Regions from separate parts of the Homo sapiens genome. Here region 2 is linked to region 1. The links are contacts of gene promoters, found by promoter capture Hi-C in human tissues and cell types (Jung and others, 2019). All regions are on one chromosome and are shown on one strand. The core of a region is centred on a gene start or on the middle of the fragment in contact, and the rest is flanking DNA. Distances in the headings are between cores, read along the strand shown. Region 1 holds the start of CCPG1 (cell cycle progression 1). Region 2 has its middle 52 kb from the start of PRTG.

Region 1 (3,427 bases), core at 1-2,500:
TCCCAGATACTCGGGAGGCTGAGGCAGGAGAATCGTTTGAAACTGGAAGGCAGAGGTTGCAGTGAGCCGAGATCGCGCCACTGCACTCCAGCCTGGGCAACAAGAGCGAAACCCTCTCTCAAAAAAAAAAAAAATATGAATTAAAATAATACCCTCACCATCTCCATCTTCTGCTATATGACCTGAACTCAGAAAATAAAAGTAAACCATTCACACTGGATGTGTGTGATAAATATCCCCTGAGACGTGTGGGACCCAATATGATTCTAATCTTAAAAGATACGATGCAGTAATAGCGATATTTCAAGCACTATCCTGTAGATTGGAGGAGACAAATCTAAAATTCATAGTACTATATAGTTAGCTATTCTAACTACAAGAATGCCCAACTGTGTTTTTCAATAAAAGTAGAGCAGAACAGTGCAAACTTCACCACTCAATAAAATACCTTACTTGGCGCTCCCAATAGTGCTAAACATAAACAACGCGTACAAGGCACTGCATGGGACAGCTGCTAATGAGGACAAATCGATTAGGGAGACCAAAGCTAAAGGAGGCCACTGGAACTGGAGAAGGATATGGAGAGGTATTTGATCATCATCAGGCTGGCGTGCTAGCGGAAGTCTCCGGGCATTATTTAATATTTAATCTTTCTATTCCTGACATCACGGGGGCTCAAATGTCATCAAAAGACAGGCTGGCATTAAACCCGGCAGGGTGACGCACATAACATCTTACCATATGGATTTTCATCAGTCCAGACCGACAAGCACCTCAAAGCCTGCCCAGTGAAGGAAGAAGGGTGGCCCAGGCCGTCAGCTCTCCCACCCTTGGCGCGCAGTTCGGTATAGCACTCGGGGTTTGGAGGCTGCAAGACCACCGGACCGGACGCCCCAGGGTCGGCTCGGGCCTCCGGAGCTGTGCACTCGCGCACGGCCCGAGGAGGTCGCCCGTGCGGCCGCTGACACCAGGCGTCAAGTCCCCGCCCGAGCAGCCCCAGCCTAGGAGGCGGACCCCGCCACTGCTCCTCTACTGAGCCGAGCGTGTCGGCCAGGGACTCAGACAGTCGGCACAAACCCCCTCCCGGGGTCTAAGCCCGCCTAGTACAGTACCTGAAGGGGCAGCGCCACCTCCGCCCGATTGTGCTGGCTGCCCCAGTGGCGGCGGTCACAGCTCGGGCGCCAATGACGCCTCTTATAAAAACAACCTGCTCGCAGGCGTCTGCAGCCGGCAGGCGGTGACCGGCTGGGCGCCGCAGTGCATGCCGTGACGCGTAGTCCCGCCTGCGCCTCCTGCCCGGCAGCGGTGAAGAGAAGAACTACCACTCCCGAAGTGGAGCGCAGGCCGCCGCCGGGCGGCTGCGGGAAGCTGGGCCAGGCGGCCGCAGATCCCCACAACATCCGGGAGCCGGCGACCACTTCCAGTTGCTATGGTTACGAGTTGCAACCTCCAGAAAGAATTCGTGGTTTCACCCGGGAAAACAGCTCCCCGGATTAAACGGATAGGTTTACACATACTGATCCACCCAGCTATTCATCTTCTGTTTGCTGCTTTAATTGGGTGCGGTTAAAAGGCCACGTCCCTAGGCGTTCACCGGCTTTCTTGCCATCTGCTGCATGAAAACTGACTTTGCCGAAAAAATTAACAAAGAAGAGCGAAAATGACAGACCGCAACCGGGTGAGTTTAGGCAGAGGGCTAGATGTTTGGGAATGTTGGTATTCGCTAGTATAATTTGAGGCACCACCTACTCCTACCACCCCCAACCCCACAACCCCGAAAAGCACTTTACAAGGCAACTACTGAGCTTTTACATTTACACTTGTAAATGCACGTTTCCTTAAGTCCGAATAGCCTCTGAAGGTGTAAAGACCATCGAGATTGTATGCATTCATACCCTACTGTTGCAAACTGTTCAGTGATGGTTTTGAACAAGAAAAACGTACTTTGTTAATTGTATACTTATTTAAATTGCACTGTGTCAAAGAAGGGAGTTGTTTTGAAAAAGGATTTGGTGGCCGGGCGCCGGGGCTCAACGCCTGTAATCCCAGCAATTTGGGAGGCCGAAGCGGGTGGATCACCTGAGGTCAGGAGTTCGAGACCAGCCTGACCTACATGGTGAAACTCCGTCTCTACTAAATACAAAAAATTAGCCAGGAGAGGTGGCGCGGGCCTGTAATCCCAGCTACTTGGGAGGCTGAGACAGCAGAATTGCTTGAACCTGGGAGGCAGAGGTTGCAGTGAGCCGAGATTGCGCCACTGAACTGCAGCCTGGGCAACAAGAGCAAAACTCCGTCTCAAAAAAAAAAAATCTTACATTTATATTCACTCTTTACAGAAGCAATAAAAAGTTTAGGTTTCATTCTCTGTCCCCTAATTGTGGTAAAAGTAAATAAATAAATGGAAAAATTAATAATAAACGTAAACATTAGCAAGGAAGACGGTGGACCTGAGCAGAGACAAAAGAGTGCCTCAAAATTAGACCTTTTTTATTTTTTATTTTTGCTTTTCTATTAACTATATTCAACATCAACAGTGACATCAAAAAATCTTAATTTTATAATTACAGCTTCTGCGATGGGCATTATTAATCAATGGCTTGTTTTCATTTATCTTTTTAAATGTATATGTATCTATACCAAAGGACTTCGAAAGGTCAAAGTGGTCTGGCTTTCTCTAACTGAAAATTAAATTACTAAGAAAGCTAATACCAGCTACTGGTAGATTTTTATACCTTTCAAGCCACTTTCACAGGCCAATTTTAAGATGTAATTTCTTCTGAAAAATCATTTACAATTTTAATTAACCTTTTTATCATTTAATAAAAGTTGATGACATGTGGCAGATAATTTGAACTCATCCTTTTATTATTCTTTGTATTGGCTATTTGTTTCGTTCTTAACTATAGTCAGTTTGAACTCCACATTTTAAGAATATCAGGTTTGAAGAAGGTGAAACCCATATTAGAAAACTGCAGTGGTTGTCTATGATGTAAAGTATAAAGCAATGGACCTTTTGTTTCTGAATCTATAAACATTTGTGAATTATCCTGGAAATCTAAAAAATTTTTAATTTAAGATTTAGCTTTTCCAGATTTTATGGTACTAATTATGCCAACAAAGTTTATCAGCTAATTTGTCTTCTGTTTTTACTAGATTTCGTTTTCTGCATTATGTTTTGAGCCAAAGCTGAACGAAATTCTAGAACCAGTAGTAAAGAGGGTCATTTGATAACAAGAAGAGTTCTCAGCTGGGCGCGGTGGCTCATGCCTATAATTCCAGCATTTAAGGCCCAGTACTCTGGGAGGCCGAGGCAGGCGAATCGCCTGAGTTCAAGAGTTCGAGACCAGCCTGACCAACATGGAGAAACACTATCTCTACTAAAAACACAAAATTAGCCGGGCGTGGTGACGCATGCCTATAATCCCAG
Region 2 (3,290 bases), core at 606-3,105, 390 kb after region 1:
CCAGTCTCAGGTATGTCTTTATTAGCAGCATGAAAACAGACTAATACAGTAAATTGGTACCAGTAGAGTGGGGCATTGCTGAAAAGACATCCGAAAATGTGGAAGCGACTTTGGAACTGGGTAAGAGGCAGAGGTTGCAACAGTTCAGAGGCTCAGAAGAAGACAGGAAAATGTGGGAAAGTTTGGAACTTCCTAGAGACTTGTTGAATGGCTTTGACCAAAAGCCTGATAGCGATATGGACAATAAGGTCCAGGCTGAAGTGGTCTCAGATGGAGATTAGTAACTTTTTGAGAACTGAAGCAAAGGCGACTCTTGTTATGTTTTGGCAAAGAGACTGGCTAGGCCCAGGGTCCCTGTGCTGTGTGCAGTCTAGGGACTTGGTGCCCTGTGTCCCAGCTGCTCCAGCCATGGCTGAAAGGGGCCAACTTAGAGCTCAGCCTGTAGCTTCAGAGTGTGCAAGCCCCAAGCCTTGGCAGCGTCCATGTGCCATTGAGTCTGCGAGTGCACAGAAGTCAAGAACTGGGGTTTGGGAACCTCTGCCTAGATTTCAGAAGATGTATGGAAATGCCTGGATGCCCAGGCAGAAGTTTGCTGCAGGGGTGGGGCCCTCGTGGAGAACCTCTACTAAGGCAATGTGGAAGGGAAATGTGGGGTCAGAGCCACCATGCAGAGTCTCTACTGGGCCACTGCCTAGTAGGGCTGTGAGAAGCAGGCCACCATCCGCCAGACTCCAGAATGGTAGATCCACTGACAGCTTGCACCGTGAACCTGGAAAAGCCACAGACACTCAGCGCCAGCCTGTGAAAGCAGGTGGGAAGGAGGCTGTACCCTGTAGAGCCATAAGGGTGGAGCTGCCCAAGACCATGGGAACCCACCTCTTGCATCAGGGTGATCTGCCAAAATCACAGGGATAGAGTCAGGACTCAAACCCAAGTCTTACTGACCTAGAACAAGACTTTTAATCACTCTATTGCATTGGAAACATCTGGGCTTTAAAGAGGGCTGTGCTCAGTGCCTGCAGTCTGTAGACTGGACTTAATGCAACGACATACCTACCTAGTTCTCTGGCAAATTAAACCAAAGAATCAACAGTATTCAGCATACTTTTTAGCCCCTTTTTTGAAACCACCCCTCATCCCTGCAACCTGAGGGATTTTCCTCTTAGCTCCTTTTAGTCCTATAATGCACTGCTGGCACATAGATATAATACTACCCAATGAATATTAATTTGAATAGGTGTTTGTTCCTTACATGTTGCTCATGATATTTCTTGCATTTTTTCTCGCATTTTTGAATTGCTGCTTCCTTTTTGCATGCACCCCTGGTTGTCCCAATTGGACTATAAGTAAGGACTGTGCTCCCAGGGTTAGTCTCTGTTTTATCCTTCCTACTCTATCCAGGCCAGGGCTAGTCCATTGCAGGGCTTTACCAATTTTAACACAAATGAGAGAGGCTGTTCTAAAACTCTCTGTGGGCAGGAACTCCATGACTACTCAAGGTATTTTCTTCTTTCCACTATTAGTTCTTTCAGTTGGTCCATTTGTAAGGCCTTTTGCATGTGCCAGAGGCTGAGCTAGAAGGGGAGGATGAGGAAAAGCCTGCTTCCTGCCCTCAAAGGGCATACACAGGGTGGGTTAGGTGTGACACAGACAGGGCTATAAATAACCATTACTTGAAGTGGGAAGAAATAGTTTCATTGGAGAAGTATAGACAAAGCTTAGTAAAGCATGTCAGAGGAGGGAGAGATTGTTTCCAGCTGTCTAGATCAGGGAAGGTACCTCCCAGGATGTTCACTGTCTTATGCCACTCACCCCCATCAAAGAGAAGTGACCCCGAAAGACTTCAAAGGATACTACTAACTAAGTAGATAACTAAGCAACTGGAGAATCTAACCTTGTCTATATCCCTTGGAGTACATTTGAGTTTACCAAATACTGCACAGTGGAATCCTGTTTTAAAGAATTGCATTGACTATATAGAATTCTGAGAGAAGAGAATGGAGAAACAGCCTCCAGCTTTGGTGATCAAGTTAGAGGTTGTGTGGGAATGCAACTTTGAAAGAGTGGTAAGAGCAGAAGCCAGACTGCAAGGACAAAAATTGGGAAAGTATGATGAGGAAATGGAGACAGTCATTTATTCAACAAATAATTGAATGTCAACTATGATTATGCCAAGCACTAGGCTAGGCACTGGAGATACTGAAATATACAAAACAGACATGGTCCCTACTCTTTGGAATTGGCAACCTGTGAATCCTCTTTTGAGAGGATTGGAAGTTCCATGAGCAGAACTGGGAGGGTGGCTCCACAAATAGGTTGAGGGGAGTTTTTTGTTTGTTTGTTTGTTTGTTTTTAAGTAAGACCAGCAGGAGTTAGAGATCAGCCTGGGCTACGTGGTGAAACCCTGTCTCTACTAAAAATACAAAATTAGCCAGGTGTGGTGGCGCATGCCTATAATCCCAGCTACTTGAGAGGCTGAGGTAGAACTACTTGAACCCAGGAGGCAGAGGTTGCAGTGAGCTAAGATCGTGCCATTGCACTCAAGCCCGGGCAACAAGAGTGAAACTCTGTCTCAAAAAAATGAAAAAATAAAAATAAAGTAAGAGAGACCAGGACATGGTTTCAGGCTGAAGGGAGGAAGTTAGAGATAGTTTGAAAATGCCAGGGGGGATGGATAACTAAGAATGTAAAATCCTAGAGGACATATGTGTATAATGTTTAAATCATGCCAGCATTGTGCTCCACACATCTTGTAAATGATCTTATTCCATCCTTACAATAATCCTATGCAGCAGTTATTGCTAGGTAAGGACACTGAGATGCAAGGTCACATAGCAAGTAGGTGGAAACTGAGATGTGAAGCCAGGTCCCACTGCCAAAGACATGCTCTCGAGAACTCCACTGCTTGGAGAGAATGTGGCCAAGAAAACATTCACCGGGTGTAAAATTCACTCCAGCTGGTCTACATCGCAATGTTTTGCAGTCTTCTCAGCCAATGTTTACCTGAACTTTTCACAAAGTTTTGAGCTGTGCAGCATGAGAGAGGGAGAATTACCTTCCCCTACTTCAGGCTGCTCTGAGTTTCATCTGCAATAATCTTCTGGCATAGATCCAACCCTAGGAACAACACTGCCTGCTCCTTTTTCACCTCAGGCCCCACATTGTGAATCATCCTTGGGTGCCATTGTTGCTTCCTTTGGCACATCCCCAGCACCTGTTTTCCCAATTCATTTCTCTAGGTGCAGGCAGTCACTCTCTCTCTACCCACCCCATTCAGCACCCCCACCCCC

Evidence for each region. The method cuts DNA at HindIII sites, captures the fragments that hold promoters and counts their contacts. A contact is called where the count stands out against the background at its distance.
Region 2: a fragment that was not itself captured here is called in contact with the fragment with the promoter of CCPG1 in region 1 in 1 of the 25 tissues and cell types used here (mesendoderm cells).

The regions. Positions count from the first base shown.
Region 1 is chr15:55,407,109-55,410,535 of GRCh38, forward strand. It overlaps CCPG1 (cell cycle progression 1), which reads right to left and starts at 1,251. Exons shown (of 9, transcript NM_001204450.2): 1 at 1,113-1,251. It overlaps PIERCE2 (piercer of microtubule wall 2), which reads left to right and starts at 1,387. Exons shown (of 2, transcript NM_001198784.2): 1 at 1,387-1,678. The coding sequence starts at 1,661. All of the region lies in intron 8 of DNAAF4-CCPG1 (DNAAF4-CCPG1 readthrough (NMD candidate)), which reads right to left. RefSeq lists enhancers at 471-750, 1,111-1,380, 1,431-1,630. The HindIII fragment of the contact is 18,708 bases long and covers 1-3,427 here.
Region 2 is chr15:55,793,621-55,796,910 of GRCh38, forward strand. No RefSeq gene overlaps it. Among named protein-coding and RNA genes, the nearest start is that of PRTG, 52 kb to the left of the region's middle. The HindIII fragment of the contact is 6,112 bases long and covers 1-3,290 here.